Regions from separate parts of the Homo sapiens genome. Here region 2 is linked to region 1. The links are contacts of gene promoters, found by promoter capture Hi-C in human tissues and cell types (Jung and others, 2019). All regions are on one chromosome and are shown on one strand. Each heading gives the region's core, a stretch centred on a gene start or on the middle of the fragment in contact. The rest is flanking DNA. Distances are from core to core; before and after follow the strand shown.

Evidence for each region. Contacts are between HindIII fragments. The study calls those that stand out against the background at their distance.
Region 2: a fragment that was not itself captured here is called in contact with the fragment with the promoter of COMMD4 in region 1 in 5 of the 25 tissues and cell types used here (bladder, heart right ventricle, liver and 2 more).

What each region holds. Positions count from the first base shown.
Region 1 is chr15:75,333,404-75,338,317 of GRCh38, reverse strand. COMMD4 (COMM domain containing 4) reads right to left here and starts at 2,255. Exons shown (of 8, transcript NM_017828.5): 1 at 2,226-2,255; 2 at 185-256. The coding sequence starts at 2,228. RefSeq lists enhancers at 1,862-2,031, 2,372-2,421. The HindIII fragment of the contact is 27,503 bases long and covers 1-4,914 here.
Region 2 is chr15:75,596,690-75,601,603 of GRCh38, reverse strand. SNUPN (snurportin 1) reads left to right here. Exons shown (of 9, transcript NM_005701.4): 8 at 386-466; 9 at 2,923-3,518. The coding sequence ends at 3,246. Among named protein-coding and RNA genes, the nearest start is that of PTPN9, 20 kb to the right of the region's middle. The HindIII fragment of the contact is 4,669 bases long and covers 1-4,662 here.

The sequences.
Region 1 (4,914 bases), core at 1,006-3,505:
CCTCACCCCTCCTTCCTGGGGACTGGCTCAGAGCAGGCCAGCCACTGATCAAGGTCACAAAGCATGGTAGCACAGGCTGAGAGCACTGAGGCCCTAGCCCCAGAGAAACCTCACCATCCTCTACACCCACAATCCCCACCCCCAACACCCCTCCTCCACCCAGACTAGACCCTGTGCACTCAACCATCTTGGCCAGCGTGCTGATTTCTGCCAGGACCCAGTCGGGACAGTCCAGATCACCACAGAACCGGAACCTCTGCAAGGGAGGGAGGCAGGTAATCAGGCTGGAGGGAGGCCTGAGGTGTGGCCAGGATCCGTGTGTCTCCCACACTGCTGCCCACCAGGGACCCCTGGTCCCCGACATAGATGGATACCCTCTGGCCTCTTGTTCTCCCCTATCACCAGGCTGTTGAGTAAACTCTCTCCCTGACCCACCCTGCCACCAAACCCTGCTCTGAGGTCTACTCCAGGCATTCATCTGCTCAGCAAACATCAATTAAGCACCTTCTCTGTGCTAGCTCCCACTCTAAGTGCTGGGGGTACAGCATGGGATAAAACAAAGTCCTGGGCCTCACAGAGACGAGTGAACTCTCTCCCCTCTTCCCCATACCCACACAACTCCAGCCACTCCAGCTTCCCTGCTGCTGCTGGGGCACACCAGCCTTGCTCCCGCCTCCATGCCTGCTGCACTCTCTGTGTGGCTTGCTATCCTTTTTTTTTTTTTTTTGAGACAGTTTCACTCTTGTTCCCCAGGCTGGAGTGCAATGGCGCGACCTCGGCTCACTGCAACCTCCGCTTCCCAGGTTCAAGTGATTCTCCTGCCTCAGCCTCCCAAGTAGCTGGGATTACAGGCATGTGCCACCACACTCGGCTAATTTTGTATTTTTAGTAGAGACAGAGTTTCACTATGTTAGCCAGGCTGGTCTTGAACTCCTGACCTCAAGTGATCCGTCCCCCTCAGCCTCCCAAAGTGCTGGGATTACAGGCGTGAGCCACGGCGCCTGGCCAGTGGCTTGCTATCCTTTAAGTGACACATCAGACCAGCCCTTCTTTTTTTAAAAAATAAAAAAATAAGACAGAGTCTCCCTCTGTTGCCCAGGCTGGAGTGCCATGGCCATGCTGGTCTCGAACTCCTGACCTCAGGTGATCCACCCTCTTCACTCTCCCAAAGTGCTAGGATTACAGGCATGAGCCACCGCACCCAGCCAGAACAGCCTTTCTTGATTATACTTCTTAAAATAGCCCCTCACACAAGGAAATTATGGAGGCCAGTGGATACGTTCATTATCTTGATTGTGGTGATCCAAGAGCCAGGAAGATTTGTTCTCTACTTGTCCAGCCTCATCTTTCCCTAACCTGCAGATGATACTCTCCCAGCTATGGGAAATGCATCCATTCCTGGGGAGCCATACTCTCTCTAACCTGAAGTCTCTGCACATGCTGTTCCCTGTCTGAAGACACACGTCTCCCACCCTTGCCTCCCTACCCCTGGTACACAAACTGTACTTCAGCCAGCCAGCTCCTGCCATCCATCCGCCTTTAAGTTTGATGGCATCCTTAGGAAGCCCCCTTAGCACTACACACAAGGCGCAGTTAGGTCTCTGCCCCTGGAGCCTTAGCTATGACTCCAATTCAAGCCTCCGATTTCCCCTTCCCTTGGCAGCTCAAGTCCTCCCAGTGCCTAGCACACTTCATGGTATAGACCAGGCGCTTAGAACGTACGGATGGATGGATTGGATGGATGGATGGATAAGTCTCAACCCCAAAACTACTACTTTCTGGCTCTGGAAAGAGCGGAGGGGCTTCCTAACAGTGTGGAAGAGTGAGCCTGATTCTAAGCACCTTCTTGTACAAGCCCCACGGCAGGGCTGGGGAAGGGGGTATCCTTGGGAGGTCCTCTTGGGGATGGGGAAGACCTGAAAGGACTCCCAGCTCCAGACAAGCCCTAGTTCCTGCCCCGGGAGGCAGGGGCCCTTCCTTCCGCCAGGGAAGCACCGGGACTCTAAGCCGGCCGGCCTGCTCTGTCTTACCCGCCCCGTACCCCCGCCCCCGTCTCGGGAGCGGGAGAGTGGTGGACTTTTCCCTACCAGACTCACAGCCCTCACGCCCGCACACACTGTGTTTGCGGAGAGGCCAGTACAACCTCCCCCAGTTTCCGGAGCCACTTGGCGCCCCCTCATTCCCGCTCCAGCAGCCCAAGCCTCGCTTCGCCCCTAGTGCCTCACCATCGCGCCAAGAAGCCAGGGCCCGGGAATTTCTTTTTCCGGTCCCGCAGGGTCAGCTGAGTCGACGATCACGTGACTTGGACTAACTGCCTCTGGGAGGGCGGGGCCTGCTCGAGTGAGGCCGGGAGCGGACCGCAGCCCGCTGGAGGTGCAGGGGGCGAAATGCTGGCGTCTCCTCCTCCGTCTCCCAGAATCCTTCCCTGGAAAAAACTGGCGCCAACCGCCAGTTTAACTGAGGACCGAATTAAGACATTAGGAAAGACAGTGGAAGTTATTTCATTTGTTTAACTTAAGGGGGTAGGATCCCGGGAGCCAGGGTGTTTCAGGTCATTGACACGTTTTCCACTGTTAAGCGAATAGCATTATTCACAGCTGCGGGCTGTGGCAAAAGACATTTTAAAAACTATTGACGTCTACTACACATACAGAAAATTGTACCTATTATAAAGCTTAATAAGTTTTCATCAACTGTACACCTCACATAACCAGCACCCAGGTAAGGAAATAAACCAGATAACTTCTTCAAGTGCATGGGTATTTTATTTCATTTTGATGAATCATCTAGGTGCCTAGCAAAAAGGGCTGTCATAATTACTTGCTCAGGAAAACTCCCTACAGCTTCAACATCAATAGATGCTTATCTTAATTTTTGCCAGTCTGATGGGGAAGAAAAATCGGTTGCTTAGGTTGCAGTGGTAGTCTGATTACTGGTAGCTCTGAGCTAATGGGTAGTCTAGAACAACTAAGTTTCCGACATTGACTTGAAGAGGCAAAAACAAAAAGACAAAACAACAAGAAAAATACATTTGAGAATAGACTAATAACCAGAGACAAAATTGAATACAGTCGTCCTTTGGTAACCTCAGGATGTTGGTTCCAGGACCCCAGAGATACCAAAATTCACAGATACTCAAGTCCCTGATATAATATGGCATAGTATTTGCAAATAACCTGTGCACATCCTTCCGTATACTTTAAATCATCTCTAGATTACTATAATACCTAATACAACGTAAATGCTTTGTAAATAGCTGTTATAAAGTTTTTTAATTTTTTTTTTTGAGACGGAGTCTTGCTCTGTTGCCCAGGCTGGAGTGCAGTGGCGCGATCTCCACTCGCTGCCAGCTCTGCCACCCGGGTTCACGCCATTCTCCTGCCTCAGCCTCCCGAGTAGCTGGGACTACAGGCGCCCGCCACTGCACCCGACCTGTGTTTTTTTATTGTTTTACTTTTTCCAAATATTTTCGATGCACAGTTGGTTAAATCCAAGGATCCAGAACCTCAGGATACAGAGGGCTGACTGTAGTTTGAGCTCTCTCCTCAATTCCATGCCTATCCCATGCAACAGGTGCAGCTGGTTTTATTGTTGCAGGCTTTCAGGTTTTTAAAAGACAGAGCCCATGACAATTAAACTGCACTATAAAATAGAAATGTAAAGTGTCCCCAATTCATGGTAAAATTGAGCTCATTTCTGAAGAGTTCTTTTACAAATCATAACCACTAGCCTGTTGAAAACAACAGTACGTTAAGTTACTAGACTATCCTAAACCATGTCAAAAAAATTTTTTAAGAATGTTAAGACCTTTAATCATAGCACTTTGGTAGGCCAAGGCCGGTGGATCGCTTGAGCCCAGGAGTTCTAGACCAGCTTGTGCAACATAGGGAGACCCCAGTCTCTACAAAAAATTACCCGCTTGTCCTGGTGCACACGTGTTGTCCCAGCTACCTAAGAGGCTGAGGTCAGAGGATCTCTTGAGCCTGGGAGGTGGAGGCTGCAGTGAACCATGATGGCACCACTGTACTCCATCCATCCTGAGCAACAGAAGGAGACCATCTCAGAAAAATAAAATAAAATAAAAATAAATAAATAAATAAATAAATAAATAAATAAAGGCTGGGCACGGTGGCTCATGCCTGTAATCCTAGCACTTTGGGAGGCCGAGGCAGGCAGATCACCTGAGGTCAGGAGTTCGAGAGCGGTGGCCTGGCTAACATGGCAAAACCTGTCTCTACTGAAAAAAAACAAAAAAAATTAGCAGGGTGTGGTAGTGGGTGCCTGTAATCCCAGCCAGTCAGGAGGCTGAGGCATGAGAATCGCTTGAACGCGGGAGGTGGAGGCTGCAGTGAGCCGAGATTGCACCGCTGCATTTCAGTCAGCTTGGGCAACAGTGTGAGACTCCGTCTCAAAAAAAAAAAAAAAAAAAAGATGATTTGACTATTTAGAGCCGTGGTTCTCACACATTAGAGTGCATCATCATCACCTGCAGGGCTTGTGAAACCGGCTGCTGGGCCTCACACCAGAGTTTCTAACTCAATAGGACTGAGGTGGGGCCTGAGCATTGCGTGTCTATATTCCCAGGTGACATTTGAGACCATGCTTTGAAAACCACTAGTGTAGGGAAATATACTACAGAATATGTTATGAATATTCTTGAGAATATGTATATATGTTAACTTAGGGTTTCTGTCCAGTGGAAAAGATAACACCCAAAGATGGCAGTTTTATTTCCCAATATGATTTTCTTTTTTTTTTTTGAAATGGAGTCTCGCTCTGTCACCCAGGCTGGAGTGCAGTGGCGCCATCTTGGCTCACTGCAACCTCCACCTCCTGGGTTCACGCCATTCTCCTGCCTTAGCCTCCCGAGCAGCTGGGACCACAGGCGCCCGCCACCACGCCGGGCTAATTTTT
Region 2 (4,914 bases), core at 1,079-3,578, 260 kb before region 1:
AGAGATTTTCTTTTCTTTTTGCTTTTTTTGAGAGGGAGTCTTGCTCTGTCACCCAGTCTGGAGTGCAGTGGCATGATCATGGCTCACTGCAACCTCCCCTTCCTGGGTTCAAGCTATTTTCCTCCCTCAACCTCCCAAGTAGCTTGGACTACAGGCACATGCCACTATGCCTGGCTAATTTTTGTATTTTTAGTACAGACGGGGTTTCACCATGTTGGCCAGGCTTGTCTTGATTTCTTGACCTCAGGTGATCCTCCTGACTTTGCCTCCCAAAGTGCTGGGATTACAGGTGTGAGCCACTATGCCTGGCCTGACAGAGATTTTCAATTGCTTGGGCCAGTATCATTTATAACGTACTAATTCCTTGTTCTAATTTCTATTTCAGTTTAAATTTGTGGGGCTAAAGAACTTCCCTTGCACTCCCGAAAGCCTGTGTGATGTGCTATCTATGGATTTCCCTTTTGAGGTAACGAAACCATTGTCTTTATTGCCTTGACATGATGATAGGCTGCAGAGAGACTTAGTTACACAAAGTCTTAAAATATTCCTTGATTGTGCTGTGTCAAAGCATCAGAATGGGACAAAGCTGATTCTGGAGAAAGGATGTACTTGCTGCCCTTCAGAGCCTGAGCTCCACCCATGCTGGATAAGTCAGAATGCTGGCACTGGAAGGGCCCTTAATGGACAGCTCGTCCAACTCCCTCATCTTACAGATGGAGAAACTGAGGTCCGGAGAAACTGAGGCCCAGATAGGAGCAAGACTTGCATGCCTAGATCCTTCTTGTGTGCCTCTTCCTACTGCAAGCTGAGACCCAGGTCCCTGGTTTGGCTGTCGTGGCTGCTTGTAAAGTGAAGGTGCTTCTGTGACTGAATGACTCCAACAAATGTCCAAATCCCTAATCCTTTCCTCACCAAAGAAGATGGCCCTTGGGGACAGCAGCACTTGCTGAGCAGGAGCATGAGTCAGGTGACCACCTCATTCCAGTTTGCTCAGGACTCGCCCTGTTTTAGCACTGAAAGTCTCACAGCGGCTGGGCATGGTGGCTCACGCCTATAATCCCAGCACTTGGGAAGGCCGAGGCCGGTGGATCACTTGAGGTCAGGAGTTCAAGACCAGCCTGGCCAACATGGCAAAACCTCGTTTCTACTAAAAATACAAAAATTAGCTGGGCGTATTGGCAGATGCCTGTAATCCCAGCTACTCGGGAGGCTGAGGCAGGAGAATCACTTGAACTTGGGAGGCAGAGGTTGCAGTGAGCCGAGATTGAGCCACTGCACTCCAGCCTGGGCAACAGCACAAGACTCTGTCTCAAAAAAAAAAAACAAAAAACAAACCTCACAGCCCCAGAGGCTCCCCAGTCCTCAACAGTCTTGTCAGCCTCAGAACCTGCAGCTACCTTCTCTAGGCTCAACAAGCACATTTTCCTTTGCCCATCATTCCCTTAAAAATTCTGCCTTGGCCGGGCACAGTGGCTCACACCTGTAATCCCAGCACTTTGGGAGGTCGAGGCAGTTGGATCACCTGAGGTCAGGAGTTCAAGACCAGCCTCGCCAACATGGTGAAACCCCGGCTCTACTAACAATACAAAAATTAGCCAGGCATGGTGGCACACGCCTGTAGTCCCAGCTACTTGGGAAGTTGAGGCAGGAGAATCTCTTGAACCCGGGAGGCGGAGGTTGCACTGAGCTGAGATCGCACCACCGCACTCCACTGCAGCCTGGGCAACGAGCGAAACTCCATCTCAGAAAGAAAAAAAAAAAAAAAAATCTGCCCAGTCACTGCAAGCATTTGCTTGAACTGGATGTAATTTTATATAAGGATCACAGCTTCCCAAATAAGGAAATGGCAAAGGCTGAGTTGCCAGCATTTCTGGGAGTCAATTAAGAAGGTGGTAAGAATACCATCTTTATTTATAACCCTTATGCCCCAGTGACAATAAATGCTTTTTAGAGATGAGTCACTGAATCATAGAAAATAAAATGTGGGACTGTAGGAGGTCTTCCCGTTGAGAAAAACTGTTTCCCAGAACATGGCTCACAAACAATTTAGGGGGAGGTTTAGGCAACCAACAGTAGCCAGGGAAGCAGGGCATCTGGACAGCCTGTTTCCACTGTGTGCAGCAATCTGCTGCCCCGGAGGGGCCTGTCCAGTTCCTCTGCTTTTCATTCCATGCACAGAGCTCATCCACCACAACACAGACCCCTAAGTGGTGGAAAGTCCGTGGAATCTGGGGACAGAAGACCAGAGTTCAAGTTGAAGTCCTGCTTCCTACTCACTGTGTGTTTTAAGGAGGTCCTCAGAACTCCCTGAGTATGAGCAGCCCCATCTCTCAGACACCGTCATGGGTAAGATAGTAAAATAGTGGGCAGGAAAGCACTCTGTAAACAGGAAAGTGCTATTTATGTTTATCCTTTCCTTTTTTTTTTTCTTTTTTTGAGACAGAGTCTCACTCTGTCGCCAGGCTGGAGTGCAGTGGTGCAGTCTCAGCTCACTGCATCCTCTGCCTACTGGGTTCAAGCGGTTGTCGTGTCTCAGACACCCGAGTAGCTGGGATTACAGGCATGTGCCACACATGCCTGGCTATTTTTTTGAATTTTTAGTAGAAATGGAGTCTTACCATGTTGCCCAGGCTGGTCTCAAACTCCTGAGCTCAAGCAATCTGCCTGCCTCAGCCTCCAAAGTGCTGGAATTATAAGCATGAGCCACCACGCCCAGCCAATGTTTTTATTTTCTCAAATTTAGTTTTCTAGGCCATTTCTTTATTTAGAGAAACGGCATGTGTGAGAAGCTGGGACTCTTTCCTCTGTCAGTGACCCAGAAAAAGGAGTCGGACCACAAGAGCTGCCCTTGTGTGTATAGGCTCTCCTGGAAACATGTGGCCCCAGAAGTCATTTGATCCTCAATTTCCCCTTGTCTTATAGGTAGATGGACTTCTCTTCTACCACAAACAGACCCACTACAGCCCCGGAAGCACTCCCTTGGTGGGCTGGCTGCGCCCCTACATGGTGTCAGATGTCCTTGGTGTAGCTGTGCCGGCTGGCCCGCTGACCACCAAGCCAGACTATGCTGGGCACCAGCTCCAGCAGATTATGGAGCACAAGAAGAGCCAGAAGGAAGGCATGAAGGAGAAACTCACACACAAGGCCTCTGAGAATGGGCACTATGAATTGGAGCACCTGTCTACTCCCAAGTTGAAGGGTTCTTCCCATAGCCCAGACCACCCTGGATGCCTCATGGAGAATTAAAGAGAGAAGCCTCCTTAAGGAGCCACAGGATGGTACCTGGCCCCAAAAGGAATCCTGGAGAGGAGGACAGTGACAACAGGTGACTTCATTCTTTAGAGTGAACTTTCCAAACCCAGTCCAGCTGGAAACAGCTTATCTATAATCTGAAATGCTGGCTCAAACAGTTATGGGGAGGTTCCCAGATTGCGTAGCATTCAGATTGATTTGAGCAGCTCCTACTGTGATAAGTGTATCCCAGATCCACAATGTAAATATATGTGATTTGTAAGAAAGAACTGGTTTGTGGTTCTTAAGCTTTAGATAGCCATGAATCTCCCCTTCCCATCTCAGTCCCCTGGGCTACTTCAACCATGGCTGTTCAAGTCTTGGCCCATTTCACTCTTTTTAGTACTCAAAGATTCTGCTGAGTTTCCAGTTGCTGCTGCCGCCGAAAGGTTTTACCAGGAACTGCAATTCTGGGTATTTGAATATGTTCCCTCTTCTGAGAAGACAAGTGTGATTTTCTTTGGTTTAGACATTGCCAGAGATAAAATGCAAATGTAGTTCATTCACTCCTTCAGCAAACATTTGTGCCTACCAGGAGATAAGCTTGTCCTAGGCCCCTGCCAAGTAGAGGGGTTATGGAGGTGGACAGTACTTAGTCCCTGCCCTTGAGGAGCTCACACTCCTGTGAGAAAAGAAGCCCACCAGGACAGTTTGGGAGAAGAGGCTGGAGAGAGATAGCAGGTTTTAGATTTTGTGTCATGGATGAAAGGAGCTAAGAAAGAACTTTGAGCAGGCAAGGTCTCTTGAGATTTGTGAACTGGAGGTCTTTGGCAGCTGTGAGAATGGAAGATTGTGTTGGAAACTGACTAATTAGTTTCTGCTTTGTATTCAGGAAATGGATCCCACTTCCTGTGGCTTCAGTCAGCTCCCATATTGCTTCCCATCTTTCTAGGACTCTGTCATGGATACAAGTACTTCACCATTCCCTCCAGCAGCACTAGTGTCCTGTGGACAGATTTTCACAGGGATCCAGGTCAGCTCTTGTCTGACATGCAGTGGTCCCTGCATGTTGATTAGTTCTGGGAACAGATTTGGGCAGAGGTAGTAGTTATTTGGAGCCTGATTATACAACTTCAGTACATCCAGTGGAACTAGTCTTAGTGTCGGCTCTTAGAGAGTTGCTCAAGCTGACCTTGTAAAATTGGAAGACTCCCCGCTCCCACCCTCATCCATTGATGATCCTGCTGGCTGCAGATTCAAGCATTTGCCTACATCAATAAGCTCTTTCCTGAATTTAGGTCAATTCTGTAATAGGAACATTGTGTTCCTCTTGCCAAGGAGCATGTTTTAAGTGCCTAAACATTTAGTCTCTGTTTGATAATTTTCTGAGTGCTCTAGTCTGTGCTATCAGCAGCCAACCATATCAGTTCAGAAGCTATGCATGCTAGTGTCAATAGTGACTTGGCCATACTCTGTTCAGAAATAATCAGGTCTGGAAGGACTACTTCCCCAAAGGGCGCACACAGGCACTACAGGCACACACACTCTGGGGACAGCTGCATGAATCAAAGGATATATCAGCCAAAATTATCAACAATCACAACTTGATTTTTTTTTTTTTATTTTGGGATAGAGTCTTGCTGTGTTGCCCAGGCTGGAGTGCAGTGGCACAGTCTCGGCTCA